Regions from separate parts of the Homo sapiens genome. Here regions 2, 3, 4 and 5 are each linked to region 1. Evidence: promoter capture Hi-C in 16 types of primary human blood cells and fetal thymus (Javierre and others, 2016). All regions are on one chromosome and are shown on one strand. Each heading gives the region's core, a stretch centred on a gene start or on the middle of the fragment in contact. The rest is flanking DNA. Distances are from core to core; before and after follow the strand shown. Region 1 holds the start of RPSA (ribosomal protein SA). Region 2 overlaps ACVR2B (activin A receptor type 2B). Region 3 overlaps MYRIP (myosin VIIA and Rab interacting protein). Region 4 holds the start of SCN5A (sodium voltage-gated channel alpha subunit 5). Region 5 overlaps MYRIP (myosin VIIA and Rab interacting protein).

The links. Contacts are between HindIII fragments. The CHiCAGO score rates a contact against its expected background, and 5 or more counts as called.
Region 2: a fragment that was not itself captured here is called in contact with the fragment with the promoter of RPSA in region 1 in 1 of 17 cell types (total B cells); the score reaches 7.0 in total B cells.
Region 3: a fragment that was not itself captured here is called in contact with the fragment with the promoter of RPSA in region 1 in 2 of 17 cell types (megakaryocytes and non-activated CD4 T cells); the score reaches 6.4 in megakaryocytes.
Region 4: a fragment that was not itself captured here is called in contact with the fragment with the promoter of RPSA in region 1 in 1 of 17 cell types (activated CD4 T cells); the score reaches 5.8 in activated CD4 T cells.
Region 5: a contact is called between a fragment that was not itself captured here and the fragment with the promoter of RPSA in region 1, in 1 of 17 cell types (megakaryocytes). The highest score is 5.1, in megakaryocytes.

Annotation. Positions count from the first base shown.
Region 1 is chr3:39,404,842-39,409,036 of GRCh38, forward strand. It overlaps RPSA (ribosomal protein SA), which reads left to right and starts at 1,879. Exons shown (of 7, transcript NM_002295.6): 1 at 1,879-1,923; 2 at 2,780-2,945; 3 at 3,765-3,883. The coding sequence starts at 2,813. It overlaps SNORA6 (small nucleolar RNA, H/ACA box 6), which reads left to right and starts at 3,550; the gene lies at 3,550-3,698. RefSeq lists enhancers at 1-14, 1,600-2,391, 1,773-1,912, 3,977-4,195 and silencers at 2,083-2,262, 3,658-3,707. The HindIII fragment of the contact is 4,276 bases long and covers 1-3,800 here.
Region 2 is chr3:38,489,764-38,493,958 of GRCh38, forward strand. It overlaps ACVR2B (activin A receptor type 2B), which reads left to right. Exons shown (of 11, transcript NM_001106.4): 11 at 1-3,379. Among named protein-coding and RNA genes, the nearest start is that of EXOG, 4.5 kb to the right of the region's middle. The HindIII fragment of the contact is 2,092 bases long and covers 818-2,909 here.
Region 3 is chr3:40,182,571-40,186,765 of GRCh38, forward strand. All of the region lies in intron 9 of MYRIP (myosin VIIA and Rab interacting protein), which reads left to right. All of the region lies in intron 2 of EIF1B-AS1 (EIF1B antisense RNA 1), which reads right to left. Among named protein-coding and RNA genes, the nearest start is that of EIF1B-AS1, 130 kb to the right of the region's middle. RefSeq lists enhancers at 2,519-2,628, 2,969-3,018. The HindIII fragment of the contact is 2,258 bases long and covers 1,256-3,513 here.
Region 4 is chr3:38,649,165-38,653,359 of GRCh38, forward strand. It overlaps SCN5A (sodium voltage-gated channel alpha subunit 5), which reads right to left and starts at 523. Exons shown (of 28, transcript NM_000335.5): 1 at 367-523. RefSeq lists a silencer at 482-641. The HindIII fragment of the contact is 703 bases long and covers 1,679-2,381 here.
Region 5 is chr3:39,987,210-39,991,404 of GRCh38, forward strand. The region is part of intron 2 of MYRIP (myosin VIIA and Rab interacting protein); the gene reads left to right. Among named protein-coding and RNA genes, the nearest start is that of MYRIP, 180 kb to the left of the region's middle. The HindIII fragment of the contact is 2,876 bases long and covers 563-3,438 here.

The DNA of each region.
Region 1 (4,195 bases), core at 629-3,128:
CTGATGCTTGGGTCTCACTCAGAGATTCTGATATATTCAGCCCAGGTGTAAGATTTTAAAAGCTGCCCAGGTGATCCTAATGCCAAGGCTGAGGCCCCTGGAGGAACCCTGCAGAGCTGCACTCACTACTCAGCAATCCCAATCCACACGTGAAGGGTTAAGCAGGAGTACATTTGGGTGCAGGGGGCAGGGCATTGTTTTGGGACTCAGGGGCCTCTGAGGAGGCTTGTGGCCTGAGTTTCTGCCAACAAACTGAATGCCTCCTCTTCCCATAACAAAGCGTAGAAGCGGGAGGCATTTGCATTTGCCGCAAGGGGCTGTGACTTCTCTGAATTTGTCCCTCAAGCCCCAGGTGCTTCAGCCTTGGTGGGTGATGAAGCAGAGCAGCCTGGGGGTGACCTGTGCTAGGGTCCAAGGGTTTCCAAGCTCCTCAGAAAATCATACTGGCTTCAGTGGAGCTGCAGAGCCACTTGCAGGAGAACCTGGATGTGCTGTCCTTTGGAAGAGTGGCCATAAGGGTCTACGAGTTCATTTTAGGGTGGGCTCAGAAATCAGATTGACTCAGCAGGCCCCAGAGAGGAACCTGCACTTTTTTTTTTTTTGACGGAGTCTTACTCTGTCGCCCAGGCTGGAGTGCAAGTGGCGCAATCTCCACTCACTACAACCTCTGCCTCCTGGGTTCAAGCAATTCTCCCGCCTCAGCCTCCCCAGTAGCTGGGATTACAGGCATGCCTGGCTAATTTTTGAATTTTTAGTAGATACCGGGTTTCGCCATGTTGGCCAGGCTGGTCTCTTGAACTCCTGGCCTCAAGGGATCCGCCCGCGTCAGCCTCCGAAAGTGCTGGGATTACAGCCACCGCGCCCCTTCAATTAACTCCTATTTTTTTGTTTGTTTTTTGGAGACAGAATTTCGCTCTATTGCCCAGGCTGGAGTGCAGCGGTGCAATCACATTCACTGCAGACTTGACCTCTAGGCTCAAGCTATCCTCCTGCCTCAGCCTCCTGAGTAGCTGAGACTACAGGGACGCACCATCATGATTGGTTAATTTTTGTATTTTTTGTGGAGATGGGGGTCTCCCCATGTTTCCCAGGCTAGTCTTGAACTTCTGAGCTCAGGCAATCCACCCACCTCGGCCTCCCAAAGTGCTGGGATTACAGGCACAAGCCACCGCGCCCGGCAAACTTATCTCCTACTGATGGATATTGCAAAATTTTTCTTCTACCAAAAAAAAAAAAAAAAAAAAGATAGATATAATCCATACCATCTGTTCAATCTTGTCCTTTTTAACTTTTTCAGGGAAACTTCCCCCAGGTGATAGATGGATAGATACATGAGATAGACATAACGCATACGATCAGTTCAATCTTATCTTTTTTAACTTTTTCAGAGAAAACTTCCCTTAAGTGAACATTTAAATCTGAATTACGTCCTGTTAAACTGTTCTCCAGGAAAATAAAATAAAATAAATCTTCAAGTTTTTGTTTACCTAACAATTTGTTGTGTCGAACAAACCTTCCTACTTTTCAGGTAACAAAATGGCAGCTTAGGCTAGAAAGCCGCTCATATTCGCAGGTACAAGGGCTGGGTAAGAACGCCCCGCCTGGCTGACTAACTTGAGTTCCGCGCTCTGGACAGGAATTATGCACAGGGCGTCGCTGTGGCACTAGAAACCCCAAAGTCACAAGCGCCCCAGATCCGACCAGGATGCCGCTACCGGCTACAGCCCAGAGGCCCGCTCCTGCGGCGCAAGCCCGCCTTCCTGAAGAAAAAGCCCAGTCCCGGCAGCGTTCTTCTCCGGCTCCGCCCTTCTTCCGCTCGACTTTCTTTGCCATTGGCTGACAACGGAGTACATAAGGACGTCATTTCCTGCCGCCTGTCTTTTCCGTGCTACCTGCAGAGGGGTCCATACGGCGTTGTTCTGGGTGAGTTCCGTGTAGCGTCCCTGGCGCCTTCCAGGGCTAGAAAAATGAGCTTTTCCTGCTCAAATGAAGGGTGAGAAGACTAGTGATGAAAGCCGGTCAGACTGGATCTGTCTCCCGCCCGGCGCGCCCCACCTTAGGCCTGCGGCCCGCACGTGGCCAGGCTCGGGCTGGCGGGTTCCCAGAGTGCCCCGGGAGCGGGTGGAGGCCGCCCTCCAGCGGAGGCTCCGAGCTGGGGTTCGGACCAGGCCGCGGGTGGGCGGGAGTGCAGAAAGCGGGCTAACATCCTGTGTTGCTATCCCTTCGGAGTCCCACACGGCGGTGAGTCTAGGCCCAGGCGCTGATTTACACCAGCTACTTGGGCTGGTCGGGTTTTCCCTTCGCGCCGTGCGGGTCAGGAGTTAAGGTTCTCGGGTTTTTAGACAAACAAGTGGTGACAGCACAGCGAAGTAATTCCAAAGCATCCGCCTACAATCTGCTTGAAAATGTCTGAAAACAATTCATGCCTTTTTTGCCTTTAGTTTGCATATTCCAAACATGGCTGCTCTTTTGTATCTAGTTGTTAACTTGGCGCATCCACAACTTTTCCTTAATTCCTATCTTGAGAAGTGTTGAATTTCCATTCGCTAATTTCGTGTAGTTTTATTACTCGGTTACTCTGCCGTCCACACTATTTCCTCAGTAAGATGTGCGCTGTTCCGTAATACACGACATGTATGGGTTAACTTTCTGTTTACCCTTCACTACACTGTAAGCTCAATGCCTGACACTATAGCAGATGGAGTTTTTGGTTGCTTTTAAGGGTGTGCCCTACTTAACTCAATGGAATGAAAAGAAATAGGTTGCTCTCTTATTTCAGATTCCCGTCGTAACTTAAAGGGAAATTTTCACAATGTCCGGAGCCCTTGATGTCCTGCAAATGAAGGAGGAGGATGTCCTTAAGTTCCTTGCAGCAGGAACCCACTTAGGTGGCACCAATCTTGACTTCCAGATGGAACAGTACATCTATAAAAGGAAAAGTGATGGTTAGTCATTGCTTTAATTTTTTGTTACTCCAGCTGTAAGTACAAATTTTGAGCTTGCTATTCTCGTGGTTAGTTCTGGGTAATTTCTTTCTATCTTCCTTAAATGAAGCCAGACCCCTACGTTGAAAACATACTTTAAATAAATGTTCTTGTTATTGAGAGAAAAGATTTCTGCTCCAGGGGAGGAATATGTCAGTTGTCTGAGTTACGGGACTTGGGTTGGGTCATGAACATGAGAAAGTTCATTGGCTGAGTTTCTAATAGCTCGCATAGTGCCTTCAACTTCATAGGTACTTACACAGGCTATTGAACTGAATTTTGAGTGGAAAGTGGGGTAAGAGGTGGGAATGAACAATATGGTTTGGAAGAACCAGAGGATGGAAGGCATTAAGTTGGCTAAGGCACTTACTTATTTTAGAGATAAAGCTACCAAGGACTTGGGAGTGACATGCTGTAAAGGAGTTTTAGGATGAATCTTGCATCAGTGCAGATTATAAAAGGGAAAGAGTGGCAGAAAGCCAGGAAGTGGATTATTAAGAACCAATGATGGAATAAGTACAGGGAAAGAGAAAGGAAAGATGGATTTAGCCAACTGAATCTAGGCTGCACACTATTAAAGCTCAGGGTGGAGGCCAGTCTTGGCTCATGAACTTCTGAGTGTCGGAAGTGTGCTATATCAATGGCAGGATTTTCGCTAACACCAGTAGAGCTTGCCTCTATGACTGGAGTTTGGTAGTACTCGCTGCCACATAGAGTAAACTTGAGAAGAATGTTTGCACAGCCAGGTCAAGTGTTACAAATCCTTCTGCCCTCACTTAGGCATCTATATCATAAATCTCAAGAGGACCTGGGAGAAGCTTCTGCTGGCAGCTCGTGCAATTGTTGCCATTGAAAACCCTGCTGATGTCAGTGTTATATCCTCCAGGAATACTGGCCAGGTTTGTGGAACAGTGGTTAGTTTTTATATTATAGAAATAAAGCTTACAGACATTGTGAGACATAGAAAGACATAAGAAAACAGAAATAACTCAGGCCGGGCGCGGTGGCTACGCCTGTAATCCCAGCACTTTGGGAGGTGGAGTCCGGCGTATTACGAGGTCAGGAGATCCACACCACGGTGAAGCCCCATCTCTACTAAAAATACAAAAAATTAGTTGGGCGTGGGGGCGGGTGCCTGTAGTCCCAGCTACTCAGGAGGCCAAAGTGGAGAATGGCGTGAACCCGGTGGGCGGAGCTTGCAGTGAGCTGAG
Region 2 (4,195 bases), core at 614-3,113, 920 kb before region 1:
TTTGAAATGAGAATCTGGTGGTTTGAGTAATCCACCAGACTGAATTATCTAAGATCACATTATCCAGGTTGGGGGGCAGAATTACCCAGTTAAGTAATTGTTCAGAAAAGTGGGGAGGGTGGCATGTGGATGCAGTGATCCAATTAAATGGAGAGCTGCCAGGCACATTTTGTCCTCTCTGGTCAGTGAGAATGGTTGGGTTGGCTCGCTGCTTCAATCTGTGGAATCAGCCAGGAGCCCAGTGAGGAAGCTCAGAACCCCAGTAACAGCAGAGCATCTTTCAGATAGCTCCAGAGTTTTCCTGCTTTTCTGAGGAAGCTCAGCATCACTGCCACAATACGGAAAGTGGTCTTCATTTTAGCCTATTTATTTTTAGGCAGAGAGTGGATGGTTATTTGTGTGGGACTTTTGGTGGCGATATATAATGAATAATTAAGTTAATTTCTGGTATGCATAATGGCCAGTCCTGAGGCCCAGCTGAAGACCTGTCCCCCAGACCCTGCCCGCTGGCTTCAGGCTGCTGCTTCTAGACAGAGGTGCACTGGACGGGATAGTTTTATCAAGAGAATCCCTAATGTGTCATTTTAAACCAGCTGTGCTTTTTATTCATTCTGGTTGAGCGTATAGGTTTACACTTTACCCTTTTTATACTTGGAATAAATTTAGTTCCAGCAGATCTAGTAGCACTCCAGAAACCAACCCCATCTGTTCCCCATAAAAAGAACATTTTCTCTGCTCTCCAGCCACGTGTCTTGGAATGTAATTCTGTTGTGCCTTTGTTTTTATCACTCTCTTCGCCCCAAAAGCAACTGCTGTAAGCTTTTTTCTACTTGTCTTTTCTAGTCCCCAACCTCTACCTTTTTCCTTTTTCCCAGCCCTAATTTCTGGATGCACTTCTGTGATCCAGGTATTTTAAGAACCAGTTACCTCAGACCTCATGTTGAACAGTGTCGCCATCTGGGTCCTCTTGATACTGCAGACTTTTAACGTACACATGCAGGAACCCTGCTGAGCGTGGGCACTTGTTTTAAAGCAAAACTCTTCCCAAGGACTGAAGAAAGGGCTTCTGGCAAGCTCGTCATGGCATTGTGGTGGGATGGGTCTAGAGTGTCATCTGAATGGTGCTTCCTGTGTTCCTCTTTGAATTCTGCCATTTTCAGTATTCTTGTGTGTCTGAATAGGCAAAGCGATTTAATTGGCTGGTCTTGCACGCAAATTAGTTCCAAAGATAAGCTCTTTGTAACACATTTCCAGTCGCTAATGCTCAAATGTAGAACATTCCTTTAAATGGCAGGATAAAAAACCCACTATCCACCATAGTGCATTTTGGGAAGATGTCTGTAGCATATGTTGCTGTGAAATTAGGCCTTGTGGGATATGGCTGTTTGTCATTTTGATGTATTTTAAATAAATATATATATTTTTTAAAGAGCCTTTTTTACCAGTTCAAAAAGTTTAATTAACCAGCAGTCACCGCATCTGAATTTTTGTCTCTGGGGCATAGATGGCAGACCAAGATTAAAAGTGGTAACTCAGCTATACGAGCATGGGCTACCTTCCTGGGCTCTCCTGCAGTCCTGTAGACCTGCTGTTCCGCAGACCATGGGACACAAGGTCAGTGTGTTCCCAGTGAGGGTCCCAAGTCAGTCATCTTAAGTGTTTGTTCTCTGCCCCATTCAGTGGACTGTTGACTTCAGTCCCTGCAAGTGCTTTAGCCCGAGTGGGGTTTTCTCAGAGCACTGCCACGAGTTAAGTGTGTGTTTAGCCAAATAATTTCTCCGTAAGGGAAAAATGCAGTCACCCAAATTTTACCAACAATGACAGAGATGAGAGTAGAAAAGATTAGGCAACATCTGAGTTTTAACTTGAAAAGTGTCCAAGTCATCATGAAAGGCCGACTGGGAGCAAGTGATTATTAGAGATTCTTCAGGAGACCTCATCTGAAAATGTTAAGACTGCCAGTGAGGGAAGGAATTGTTAAAATGCCAGCGGCTTTTTTTTCCTCTTTTTTTCTGTAATTCTGTAAAAATGCAGAGAAAGTTGAGTGGTACTTCAGAATTGAGGGAGAGGGTTACCGCAGAGTAGAAATATATTTCTAGATTTCAGTTCCACACCACAAATCCACAACAATGCCATTTTTCAACTGTACAAAAATCTGCTTATGAACTGGACATGATCTTAATGGTAGTGTCAAAGGCCAAGTTTTTCACCTGTTAATATTTTTCCACATTTGTCCTTGAATCTGAATAACTTTATACAGTACTGTAAATTTAACTTACATCGAGTTTGTTGTCAATTCTTATGAAAAGAGCTTTCTGCATGTAACACATACGGTTAAAGAACACAGCAAAGGACAAAATTTGCAGGAACAGTTTTGGAACCAACAGAAAATGTCACCTTTTATTTGCCATCTTATATATATCTATCAGTTTTACCAGCTACTTCTAAATTTGTACATTATTTGTAAGGGAAAGAAGGAAAACCCTAAGACTTGTCTAACTTAGTGGAGAATGTGTGTGTTGGGCTTAGGATGGATAGCTAAGTCTTATTGAGCTGTGTTACCTAACTTGTATATAAAAATTGTAATTAAAAGTTTGGGTTCACCTGTTTCTCACAGTTTAAAATGATGAGTAATTGCAAACTCTGGAAATGTGACTAGTATATGATTTAAGGCTGTAGAAGCAAGGAAGCTCTTTCAAGTGCTAAAACTAAAGACTTCTAGTTTTTGGCTCAAATAAGTACTGTTTGTATACCAGGATATGTGAGATGTAAATGTAGTAGGTCACTTTTCACCCTTGTAGCTATAAAATAAAAATTTTGTAGAACAGAAATAGCTTGTACTACTGAATTAACAAAAGTTATACTAAAGTATCATGTTTAAAAAAAATATATATATATATACAGAGTTAAGCTTGTTGCTGTTACCCTGTCTGGATTTGAAAAGTGTGCTGATTTATATATATATATTACACACACACACACACACACACACACACACACACACACACACACACACACACACACACACACACACACACACATACACCTAAAATGGCCTAAAGCAGACATCCATGTAATTACAGTTGCAAAATGAAAACATTTTGGAAAGAACATTGTATCATAGTTCATTCATTTGCAGTGGATCTTTGTTCCTTTTTACTGTGGTAATTTTAGAAATGAGTGTCAAGTTTGAAATTAGATCTGCTAAGTTGGGGTTTTGCTGCTTGAACTCTGCACTGGGTCCTCAAATAAACCGATGTGAATGTAGTTTTTTCCCCCTGTGTGAAGAAGCAGTTACACCCCAACAATAGGAGGAAAAATCTAGAACTATTTCAAGTTTTATCTTTTTGTATATGAAAATAAAATAATAATAAAACAATCTTGTCTTTCTTAATTACGTGGCAGGGGATTGGAGTTTCCTTTCATGAGGATTAGACATGAAATGAAATGGCGTTCGGCTGCTTAGAGGGCTGACTCAAGTCAGTTCCTGTTTGGTATGTGTAACATTAACAGATGTTAATGGCTGAATGCCTAGTCTGCCATGGTCCTGTGGGGCTGGAGCTAAGCACAGGTCTCCATTTCTGCCATTCAGAAGTCCAGGGTCTAGTTGGGGACATTATGAATGGGGACCATTCTCCTGAACGAACTGTTCTGGGATTTTGAGTAAGTTTCTGCAGGTTAGCATATTTTCCAAATGTCCAAGACACTCCCCATTCCCTCATCCTCTGCCACCAGTCCTGTACTTTGCAGACAACCCTGAGCAATATTGTTGTAAGTGGAGCAGAGAAGCCTTGAAAATAGTTGTATTCAGGACTATTGCAGATGACAAACTCTGTCATTCCCAAACGTTGCTGAGTACTGGAGTCATTTGCGGAGCTATTAAAAAATACAATTATGGGTCCTTATCCCCAACCTGGAATTAGCAAACCAGGTCTCCAGTTTCAGAGATTTGGACTTAATCTCACTAAAGGAACTCATGGTTCCCCAATAATAAAATAATGATAGTCTTTAATACCTAACAAAACAGGAAGGCCCCAGAAATCACCTCACTGCTTTCTGCAGTAACAAGTTTTTTTGGTCGATGACTCTTTCTTGCCTAAGTGGAGAAACACCCTTTAAATTCACCCTTTATTATGAGAATTAAGCAACGGTTTGAAACTTGTGGAGAAAGTTTTTGATGACCCTTTATTCAGGG
Region 3 (4,195 bases), core at 1,135-3,634, 780 kb after region 1:
TTCCTAGCTGCTCTGGCAGAATGAAGGCTCTTAGGGTGTCATCATATTCTATGCTCTGTGCTGAGACCTGTGGGACAGATTGGGGGCTCCTGGACAAGTGTGTTCACATCACTCCACTGCACACCCCACTTCAGCTGCCTGTTCTATGTGGACTAGGAGAATGTGTCTTATGTGGGCCAGGAGCATTAAACCAACCTCTCATGGCATTTCAACTTTCAAAGGGATTTGGGTCCCAGCAAATTTGGGTCCTTAGGGCTGGTTTTAAGGATGTCCTTTCTGAAACTGGATAAATTAGTTAGGGTAGCATATGCCACTATAACAAGTAAACTGAATATCTAAGCGGCTTAATACAATCATTTTCTTTTTCATCACACAACAGTGCAGTACAAGTACCCCTGGCCTGTGGGAAGCCTTCAGAGGCCAAAGTACAAGGTTCCCACCTTGTGGCTCTATCATCCTCCAGGGCCTCTGAGTCTTTTATGGGCTTATCCATATTCAGACAGCAGATGGAGGAAGGCAGCATGGAAAAGGCAGGTACCTGCTTCTTAACTATCTCAGCACGGAGAGCTCACGCCACTTTCACTCCCAACCTGTGGACAGGAACTGGTCACGTGGCCCCACCTCAATGCAGGCCCGGAGAAATGGCATCCTGGCTGGGCAGATGCATACCAGTAACACGGCTGGGCCATGAAAGAGTCTTTGGTGGGCAGTTGTCTATCCCTGCCTGAGGGACATCCTGAGGAAGGCATTGATGTTTGCTTGCACCTCTGCTCTTCCTGATTCCTCCCCCTAGAATGTCCTGCCTCTACATGGGGCAAGTCAGCTTGCCTCTTTAGAGACTCTTCAACATGTATGGAATGTGGTCCTTTATAAAGCTGTTGAGTCACGTAATCCCTCAAAATGAAGGGGCTCAAATGAACTGAGTCATTTTCCTAAAGTCTCACATCAGAAGACTGTAAGTTGCTTGGACCCATCACTGTGGGTGACGGCCGAGGGCCATGAAGCCCCTGTGCTCAGGGGGCCTCCTGGTCTACATGAATGTCAGACTAAAACTTCCCCCAACCCCTGCACAGGTCTACTCCTCTCTTCCTATTTCCTGCATACACACACTGTGTCAGGAGGCCAGGCATATTTGTCTTCACATGAAGAAAGCATTAACAGTATTCTCATCCCATGTCGTATCAGATTTAGACCCCTTTCCTGAATAATGAAAACAACAAAAAAGATTAACAGCAGCATAGCCATCCTAGTAATAAGCTTTTAAAGATTGTGCTATTATTTCTACTCTAAAAGGGAAAAGATTTAACCAACAACTATAGAAACAAAATCCATTGTTACGACAGTGCAAAGAATCAGAAAACATTAAATATTTTTAACTGTCATTCTAAAGATTTACCAAAAGAGATTATTTTTATATTAACCTTTTAGTACCTATTAGTAGAAACTGCAGTGCCATGACATTGCAGAAATTCTGCAGCATGTGATCGTTTCTTTACTTATGTATATGGTGTTTGCTTTTGCTTTTTAAGTGCATTTTTCTTTTCTAGATATGCCTTTCTTTCCTCCCTCTGCCCTCCCAGTCTATTCATATTCATTCATTCATATTCTCGCTCTCTCTCTTCTTCCTCATTTTCTCACTTCTCTCTCTTTCTCTATGGATTGCAAATGCACACAGAAAATGGACTGTTAGATTCCATAGAGTACATGAGAATACCACATAATAGAACTTCAATACACAATATCTAGCTTTCTAAAATCACTTTAAAACATACAGAGTCACTTAAAGTATAATAAAAAAAATACAGAGTCCATATGTAGGCACTATTTTATTTTTTCCTCCAACAGCATTACCAGACACTGTCATTATTTTGTTTTGCAGATAAGAACATTGATGGACAGGGAAGTTAAGTGACTTGTTCAAGACCCCACAGCCAATGTAGGCAGAGCTGGTCCTCAAATCCAAACAGCATGACTCCAATTTGCAGGTTTTCAACTACTGCATTATAAGTGTCTCTCTACCATAAAAACAAACAAACAAAAAACAAACAAAAATTCAGACTTGCAAAGTGATAAATGTGTAGGATATTATAAAAACAACTACAAGATGCTCTATTTCACAAAATAGTTTCCAACTGGATTATGAGCATTCATAATAAATTTGCAAAGGAATTTTGTTTTCAAAACATGATTTTGTACATAATTTTCTGTAAAATTAGGCACCCATAGGTAATTTTTCAATTGTATATAAACATAAAACTTAGTTCCACAGCATCACACACCCAAAAAAAGATTTCACATTCTGCTCAAAACTCTATGCATCTCTCAGGATAAAGATTTAAAATTTTTTAAAAAGGACTTGGGTGGAAAACTTCTGGTTTTCTGAGGAATTTTTAGCCCTTGACATGCTAAACTGTCCATGCCAGCCTCAGAGGTCTTGAGGGATGTCTGAAATGTTTAGCAGGAAGCAAATTATTCCTACAGGCATTGCTCAATCTCAGTTGGGCAGAAACATCAAATAGAAGCGTTCCGAAGGTGGAGGTCATCTTAGAAAGTGAATGCCCACTGGGCTATATTTGGCAGTTGTGTTTATGCCTCAGGAGAAGGGTTGATTCAGGAGCCTGTTCGTGCACAGTTGGGGTCAGTCTTAGGGGCACTGCGGTTTGGGTAAACCACAGTAACTCCGCTTTCAGTCTTGACGCTGCTTATAGCAGTTAATGGGTTTCCCCCAAATGCATTTTCACTTTATAAACCTTGATTAGGCATCTGCTGTATATGCTGCGTGTGTTCAGTGTTGGGGAAATAAAGATCGGGGAATTGTCACTGCTCTGGGATCACTCAGTGAGAGTTAGTTGTCTGCACAATAATGGAAGAGCAGGAATTTGGAGAAAGAGGAAGAGGGAGCAGGATCCCCGAGGGGTGTTCCTGATGGACCGGGAGACTGTGGTATTGGAGCACAGGTGCAGCTTTGATAATGCTGCTCAACAACCACCAAAGTTTTCACATGTCTGGGTATTCAGGGAGCCATCTGTGTTTTTGCTAAGAAGTAAAAGTTTGCTGAGGGAAAATTTGGTCAACTTCTAGCTTCCAAAGAGGCATGAGGCAACCTAGGGTTGTAAAAAAGCAGGAGAAGGAGAGCTGGCAATGGGTCAAATGCCACCTCACCATGTAGGGGACCACATTTATAACATGGTCAACCCTAGAGCCAGCCCTGAGTGGCATTATCAAGGGTCGCCTCCTTTGGATTCCTCCCAGGGCCCCAGGAGAAGCTGTAGACAGCAGGGCTCATTGAGAGCTGCTCAATGAGCCCCGTCGCCCCTATAGCCTTTGGTGCCTGTATTCATTAACAAGTAGTATTCATGTGCCCAGGATGAGACGCAAAGTTGGCCAGGGGCTTGGGGCATAGCAGTGAAGAAGACGTGGCTCTGCCCTCAAGGAGCCCATGATCAGGATTGAGGGGTAGGGTAGACAACCAAGAAAATAAACTATAATATAGTTTGAGTGTTAAGAAATGAAAGCTTTTTGGCAAAGCTCAGAGAACAGAATAGCCAGCGTCTCAAGGAAGGAAGGCCAAGCATATGCAATTGAGGAGTGATGTATAAGTCAAGTCTTGAAAGATGGTCCAGAGAGCAGCCTCAGTGACAGATTAGAAGGCCCAGAGGACTTTTCCTTTCTTCTCAGAGTGAGTGCTCCACAGCCATGCTCGGAGTCCACTTTGCATCATGTGGGCGTCTTGGTTTGACTCCCACCAGAAGCAGAACCTAATATGAGGATCTGAAGACCTATAGTTTATTTGGGAGGTGAGCCCAGAAAACACACAGGGAGGGGAGTAGAAATGTGAGACAAGGAAAGAAAATCAGGCAATAAATGACTTGTTACTGAGCAGATGGCCACTGTGGGTGGCTGGAGCTTGACCCCACTGGGGACTCTGGGAGCCAGTGTAGAAGACTCACCTGCCTGGCAAGCAAAAGAGGGGGGATACTTAGCCACCAGCTCCCCTACTCATTGGTTGAGGGCTGCTCCCAGGAGGCGATGAATCCTGGGTACTTCCACTCTGCCCCTGGGGCAGGCAACACAGGCTCTAGTAGCCAGAGCAAGCCTCAAGTAAAGACTTGCAAGTGCTGCCAATTGGAAGTCCAGCTGGCATACACTGAAGTCGTGAGGGCCAAGGTTTGGGGTGGGGCACACACAGAGCCTG
Region 4 (4,195 bases), core at 780-3,279, 760 kb before region 1:
GGTCCCAATCCCAGACCCTCCCCGAGCCTGCGCCAGGGATGGCCGGGAAGCTGGGGCCGCAGCTCCCCCTCCCCCGGCCCTCGACAGCGCACCGGGAAACCCGGAAGGAAAGGGAAGGGAAGGGGGGCGCACGGTGTTTAGAGACGTCTCCCCCGGGGATACCCTCCAGCCGGGCGGATCTGCGCCCCTTCTCCCCCTCCGGCTCTCTGGGGCACTGATCGGGGAGGGAGCGGCTGGGCGGACCCGGGGCAGGGAGGAGCACGCAGGGACTGGAGGCTTCGGCCCTCGGGGAGGAAAGTTGGGCGGCGGCAGGCGGAGGGGGCTCCGGCCGGGCCAGGGCTGCCGGGCGCGGGGGCACTCGCTCACCTGCTGGTCCCCCGGCCGGGCCCCGGGGTGGGCGGCTGCTGCTTGGCGCGGACTCGGCTCGGCGCGGGGCTCGGGGCACTGGGCGCAGGCTCAGCGGCCCCGGGGGAGCGATCCCTGCATCCTACGGGCGCCGCCGCCGTCTCGGCTCCGCGGCTCTGTTCGGGCTCCCGGGCTGGGCAGGCGGCGCGGGCTCGGGCTGGGGGCGGGGTCGGGGGCGGGGTCGGGGCGGGCCCCGCCTGGGTTCGGCCTGGGGCTTGGGGCCCCGGGCTGGCTCCGCCCCAGAGCGACGCGCCCAGGGCTCCGCACGTGGTGCTCCGCCCGCTCGGAGGGGGGACACACCAGCGCCCGCCGGGGCGCACACTCCCACACTGACCCGGGGGCTCACAGCCACAGACAGCCGCACACGCGGCCGCGGACAGACAGACATAGGCGGGGGTACACACACGGCGACCCGGCGACGCTTCACCACAGATGGCCACCCACGCGGACGCGGACAGGCTCACATTAACAAACACTGGCATACACACCAGCACCCGCCAGAGTATACACACACACACACGCAACCTTGCTGACTTGGGAAGGCTACCAGACACCCACCCACCCACGTGGACACGGGCATACACTGACACTCATGCCGAGACAGACACACGCTGCCATAGGCATACCTGCACTGACACAGACACACACATGCACCCTGAGACAGATACACACCCCCACACACCCACACAGACACAGACAGACACATCATTGACACACACTGACACTGAGGAAGACACTCTGACAAACTTAGACACCCACATGACTTAGACACACATCCACTGACACACTGACACAGAGACACACACACTCACTCGAACCACACTTTCCTGGAGACACACTTAGTGATGCCACAGAAATCTGCACAATGGTACACATCTACCTGAACACACGGACGCACATGCTGACAGAACCAAACACACACCCAGACCCAGAAGCAAGCAGGCAACCAACACAGAGACACCCACACACGCGCGCGCGCAAACACACACACACACATACATATATATACATGTATATACCTCTTTATATATATACTTCCACCCTCTTGAGCCACATACAACCTTCACCTTGACACATGCAGAGCCTGGAGTCACATACTTACACACCCACTGTTTCTCACTCAGAGACATGGTCACAGGCACACACACACGGAGACATACGCTGACAAACAGTTGCTCCCATGCCCATGCCCAGGACCTATGGGGACACACTTCTTGTTTAAACAAAACAGGCCATCAGGGCAACCCGCTTGGGTCCCCTTCCACGCTGTGGAAGCTTTGTTCTTTCCCTCTTCACAATAAATCTTGCGCTTCTAAAAACAAAAACAAAAACAAAACAAAACAACAACAAAAAACAGGCCATCAGCTTTTGCCCACGAAAAAAGTACAGTCATTGGAAGGGATGGTACACTTTTCTGCCACATTTTCAGGGCTCCCAAAAGCAAGAACCGCTCTTAGAGAGCCAAATGGGTGCCAGGGTCTCAGAGGGCACAGAGGTGCTGGGTTTGGGAGCCCAGAGGCTGGGACCTGCTCCTCCATGATGGGGATCTTGAAGAGGTGGGAGGGCAAAGAGGGGGGTGGGGGACAGCGTCCGTTTGCGACCTGGGTGTGGGGCTTCGTTGGACGCCTTAGGTACATACGGAGGGGCTGCTCTGCTTGCAGGAGGGGATCAGTAGGAAAGTCAGTCCACAGGAAAGTTCAGGACATGGGCCTCTCCGGCCCCGAGTTGAGTGGGGTGTCTGGGGTACAGACGGATGGACCACACAGGTCGGCTGCCAGCCTTTAGCGCCTGACGAGCCTCAGGTTGGCTAGCAGCTCCCACTATCGGCCAGAAGGGGAAGTGCAGGCAGTGTCAACGTTTCAACCCACGTGCAGCCGCCTTCCCAGAGTCACACCTACCAGGCAGGAGAGTACAGTAGCAGGAAGGTCCTACCTCCCCTAAGAACTTCCATCACGGGCTTCTCGGCCTCAGAATGAAGCTTCTACTTGCAAACTGACATTGGGTCAAGCAGGAGACAAGGCTAGGATAGAAGCTGCTGGGAGTAGGGGTGGATACCTGCCTCCCTTCCGTCCATATGTAGCAGAAGTGGGGTTTTCACTCTCCTGTTTAGTATTGGGCAACTGGATGTTGCCAGCAGGAGAGGTGGGCTGAGCCTGGTAAGTCTACATGCACCCTGAATTTAAACAGGGGGAGAGAAGCCCAGGGGATGGGGAACCAGAGCTCTGAACCTGTAGAAGTTCATCCATAAAAGCACACCTTGTGGTCCTAGAGAGGCCTCAGAGTGCAGAGACAGGCAACAGGTGTCTGGAGACAGGCACTTCCTACAAAGAGCCCTTGCCAAGATCTTGGCTACTCCCTTCTCTTTGCCAGACCCTATTTAAATTTTTTGTTTTGTTTTGTTTTGTTTTGTTTGAGACGGAGTCTTGCATTGCCTCCAGGGCTGAAGTGCAGTGGCGTGATCTCGGCTCACTGCAACCTCCGCCTCCCCAGTTCAAGCAATCCTCCTGCCTCAGCCTCCTGAGTCTCTGGGATTGCAGGTGCTCGTCACCATGCCCAGCTAATTTTTTGTATTTTTAGTAGAGACGGGGTTTCACCATGTTGGCCAGGCTGGTCTCGAACTCCTGACCTCGTGATTTACCCACCTCGGCCTCCCAAAGTGCTGGGATTACAGGCGTGAGCCACCATGTCTGGCCAACCCTATTTAATTAAAGCAATAACAGGAACATGTTGTCAGCTGTCAGAGATAAATGTTTTTAAAAACTAGTATGTCCTTTATTCGCCCCTCAGTTTCGCCCAGGGTTTGCCTTTACTTTGCCTCAGGTTCAAAGCTGGGTTAACCATATCATTACTCCTCTCTTGTGTTTTTGTTTTATTTCTTCCCCCATCATCACTCCACTGCCATCTCCTTCTCCACACAGGCACCCCTCTAGGAGCTAAAGTAGGTCTTTATGTGCACATCCTTGTAAAACAGGTAGTATTGTTGTTTGTGCATATGCATTTTCTCTTCTAACAGCCCAAAGCTTTTCTTTTTATGTTTTACTTCCATTGAACCTACATAATGGAAAACTGCACAAATCCTAAGTGTTCACTTGAAAGGGTTTTCTGTTGTTGAACACATCCGTGTGAGCAGCACAACACAGAAACCAAACGTTATCAGTACCACAGAAGACCTCTTTGTGCCCCTTTCTGTCACCACCGCTACACCCACCCAGAGTTAACTACTACAGTCACATCGAATTCCCCTTGCTAGTTTTGCCTGGTTTTGATATTTATTTAAACTGGAATTGTATAATAGGAGCTCTTTTGTGTCTGGCTTCTTTTGATCAGCTTTACGCTCATGAGAGTCACATGTTGCTGCTTGTTGTTGTAGTTCATTCATTCTTGTTGCTGTACAGCATCCTATTGTATGCATATACCAGACTTTACCCATTCTACTGCTGATGGGTGTTTGGGTAGTTTCTAGTTTGGGGTTCATGAGTAGCACACCTATGAACATTCTAGTACATAAATTTTGATGAACATATGTACCCATTTCTGCCAGGTACATATTTGGGAGTGGAATTGCTGAGTCATAGGATAATGTGTGTTCGCTTTTAGCAGATGTTGCCAGACAGTTTTCCACAGTGGTTCCACCAGTATTCACTCCACCAGCAGTGAATGCATGCATCCTTTAACACTTAATACTTTTGTCATTTTCATTTTATCTCCTTCAGTGGGTGTGCAGAGGTTTCATATTCTGGTTTTAATTGGCATTTCCCTGATGACTAATGAAATTGAGCACATTTTTTAT
Region 5 (4,195 bases), core at 751-3,250, 580 kb after region 1:
ATGTGTTCTCATTATTCAGTTCCCACTTGTGAGCGAGATCATGTGGTGTTTGGTTTTCTCTTCCTGTGTTAGTTTGCTGAGGATGATGGCTTTCAGCTTCATCCATGTCCCTGCAAACGACGTGATGTCATTCCTTTTTATGGCTTCATAGTATTCCATGGTGTATATGTACCACACTTTCTTTATCCAGTTTATCATTGATGGGCATTTGGGTTGGCTCTATGTCTTTGCTATAGTAAATAGTGCTGCAATAAACATGTTTGCCTGTGTCTTTATAATAGAATGATTTGTATTCCTTTGGTTATATACCCAGTAATGAGATTGCTGGGTCAAATGGTATGTCTGGTTCTAGATCCTTGAGGAATTGCCACACTATCTTTGGCAATGGTTGAACTAATTTACATTCCCACCAACGGTGTAAAAGCATTCCTATTTATCCACAGCCTTGCCAGCATCTATTGTTTCTTGACTTGTTAATAATTGCCATTCTGACTGGCATGGTTTTGATTTGCATTTCTTTGATGATCAGTGATGTTGGACTTTATTTCTCCTTTGCTTATGAAGCTTAGTTTTTCTGGATATGAAATTATGGGTTGAAAATTTTTTTCTTTAAGAATGTTCAATCATGCTGCTATAAAGACACATGCACACGTATGTTTATTGTGGCACTATTCACAATAGCAAAGACTTGGAACCAAGCCAAATGTCCAACAATGATAGACTGGATTAAGAAAATGTGGCACATATACACCATGGAATACTATGTGGCCATAAAAGATGATGAGTTCATGTCCTTTTTAGGGACATGGATGAAATTGGAAATCATCATTCTCAGTAAACTATTGCAAGAACAAAAAACCAAACACCGCATATTCTGACTCATAGGTGGGAATTGAACAATGAGAACACATGGACACAGGAAGGGGAACATCACACTCTGGGGACTGTTGTGGGGTGGGGGAAGGGGGAAAGGATAGCATTAGGAGATATACCTAATGCTAAATGACGAGTTAATGGGTGCAGCACACCAGCATGGCACATGTATACATATGTAACTAACCTGCACATTGTGCACATGTACCCTAAAACTTAAAGTATAATGATAAAAAAAAAAAGATTGTTGAATATTGGCCCCCACTCTCTTCTGGCTTGTGGTGTTTCTGTTGAGAGGTCTGCTGATAGTTTGATGGGCTTCCCTTTGTAGGTGACCTGGTCTTTCTCTCTGGCTACGCTTACCACTTTTTCCTTCATTTTGACCTTGGAGAATCTGATGATTATTTGGGGTTGGTCTTCTCATGGAATATCTTAGTGGTGTTCTCTGTATTTCCTGAATTTGAATGTTGCCCTGTCTTGCTAGGTTGGGGAAGTTCTCCTGGATAATATTCTCAAGTGTGTTTTCCAGCTCGGTTCCATTCTCTCTGTCTCTTTCAGGTACTCCAATCAATTGTAGGTTTGGTCTTTTTGCATAGTCCCATATTTCTCGGAGGTTTTGCTCATTCCTTTTCATTTCTTTTTTCTCTAATCTTGTCTGCATGCCTTATTTCAGCAAGATGGTCTTCAAATGCTGATATCCTTTCTTCTGCTTGGTTGATTTGGCTATTGATACTTGTGTATGCGTCATGAAGTTCTTGTGCTGTGTTTTTCAGCTCTATCAGGTCATTTATGTTCCTGTCTAAACTGGTTATTCTATTTAGCAGCTCCTGTAGCCCTCTATCAAGGGTTTTGGCTTCTTTGCATTGGGTTAGAACATGCTCGGTTAGCTCAGCGGAGTTTGTTATTACCCCCCTTCTGAAGCCTATTTCTGTCAATTTGTCCATCTCATCTTCCATCCAGTTCTGCATCCTTGCTGGAGAGGCATTGTGATCATTTGGAGGAGAAGAGGCACTCTGGCCTTTTAGATTTTCAGCGTTTTTTTCGTTGATTCTTTCTCATCTTCATGAGTTTGTCTAATATTGATCTTTGTGGCTGCTGACCTTTGGGTGGGGATTTTGTGGGGACTTTTTATTGTTGATGCTATTGTTGTTGTTGCATTGTTGTTGCTTTCTGTTTGTTTTTCTTGCAGTTATCAGGTCCCTCTTCTGTAGGGCTGCTGTGGTTTGCTGGGGGTTCGCTTCAGGCCCTATTCATCTGGTTCATTCCCATGCCTGGAGATGTCACACAAGGAGCCTGGAAAACAGCAAAGATGGGTGCCTGCTCCTTCCTCTGGGATCTCTGACCTAACTGATGCCAGTAGGAACGCTCTTGTATAGCATGTCTGACAACCCCTGTTGGAAGATCTCACCTAGTTAGGTGGCAAGGGGAGCAGAACGCATTTAACAAAGCACTTTGTCCCTTGGTGGATTGGGCGTGCTTCACTGGGGGGAAACCCACACATCTGGGCTGCCTGAATTCTTCAGAACTAGCAGGAGGAAAGAATAAGTCTACTGGTCTGCAGAGACTGCAGCCACCCCTCCCGCTAGGGCTCAGGCCCAGGGAGATCAGAGTTCTGTCCTTGAGTCCCTGGCTGAAGTTGTTGGAGTTCCTGTAGGGAGGCCCTGCCTTGATGGGTCAAGGTCAGGCCTGAAGAGGCACTCTGTCCGCAATCTGCCACAGCCATTGTGTTGGACTGTGGGGGATACCTCTTGGGACCAAGCTGTCCAGCCTCCCCAGCTCCAGCAGGGGAAAAGCCTGGCCTGGAGCTATAGAGATGGCTGCTGCCCTTCACCTGCCCTTAGAGCTTAGTTTGTTAGGCAGCTATCAGTCCCAGTGTTGGCTGTCACCCGTCCCCCAAGGAGTCCAAACGGCTTAGACAGCAGGCAACTGCAGCTGTGGTGCTGATCACCCTCCCCCAGGAGCTCAGCAGCCTTAAGCAGATTCTAGCTTAGTGCCTGTTGAGAATCTGTATGGCTTCATTGTTGGGACCCTAGACCCCAGTGGAATGGACTCATGAGTTGGATCTTCCAAACCATGGGTTGCACAGTTCCATGGAAAAAGGACATTTTCCAGGCTGGGTAGTATGCTCATTCACTGACTCCCTTGGCTGGGGGGAGTGGACTCCTCTGCCCTGTGTAGCCACCACACCACACTACTCTTCCTTCTTCTCTGTGGATCACAGCAGCCACCTAGTCATTTCCGATGTTGGAATCTGGATACCTCAGTTGCTGGTGCAGGATTCGCATGCTGTTATGGTTCTTTTCAAGGGGAGCCTCTGATTGCCACTGCTTCTAGTCAGCCATCTTGACCCCACCCCTGTTCTGCTCTTTGAGTCTGTGTTTTCTTATCTGAACAATAAAGATAGCTCACTGCTCATAGAATTATTTTGAGGCTTGAGTGAAATAATGTCTATTAGGTATCTGGAAAAGTTTAAAAATCAGACATTCAAGGGCTGATACTAATTGTTGTTACATTAGGCCACAGCCCATGACTAAAGAAGTGTTGAAAAACTGAAATCCTATTGAAAGCTTTTCACAGTGTCTTGTTATTCATTCTGATTGTTCTGGTCATCGTGGCCCAAGAGAGGATACATTCCCTTTGCCAAGTAAACATTTTTCAGTTTCTAAGTGCAGGGCTGCCCTCTAGTGGACTCTGAATGCATGTTCATTGAGGATAATAGGTAGTTTTTGCAGGCACATGGCAAACTGTATGAAAACATGTCCTTTGCAGGAACATGGATGAAGCTGGAAACCATCATTCTCAGCAAACTGTCACAAGATCAGAAAACCAAACACTGCATGTTCTCACTCATAAGTGGGAGTTGAACGAAGAACACATGGACACAGGAAGGGGAACATCACACACTGGGGCCTGTCGGGGAGTGTGGGGCTACGGGAGGGATAACATTAGGAGAAATACCTAATGTAAGTGACAGGTTGATGGGTGCAACAAACCACCAGGGCACATGTATACCTATGTAACAAAACTGCACATTCTGTATGTGTAACCCAGAACTTAAAGTATAATAAAATAAATAAATAAAATACTTGTTTAGTCAAAAAAGGAAAATTGGTCTAAGTGTCTGCCTCGATAAGCTTCTAGTGTCCTCCAGAGACAAAACACTGCAACCTGTTGTCATCAGAGCATCTGTTCCTATTCCCTTGAGGCTTGAGGCTTAAAACCAGATGGAAATGTAGAGAGATCTCTACTCCAACTTCTCATTTCCAGAGAAAAATTCAGAATTCATAGAGGTAAAATGAGAACTGAATTCTAATCCTGCCTT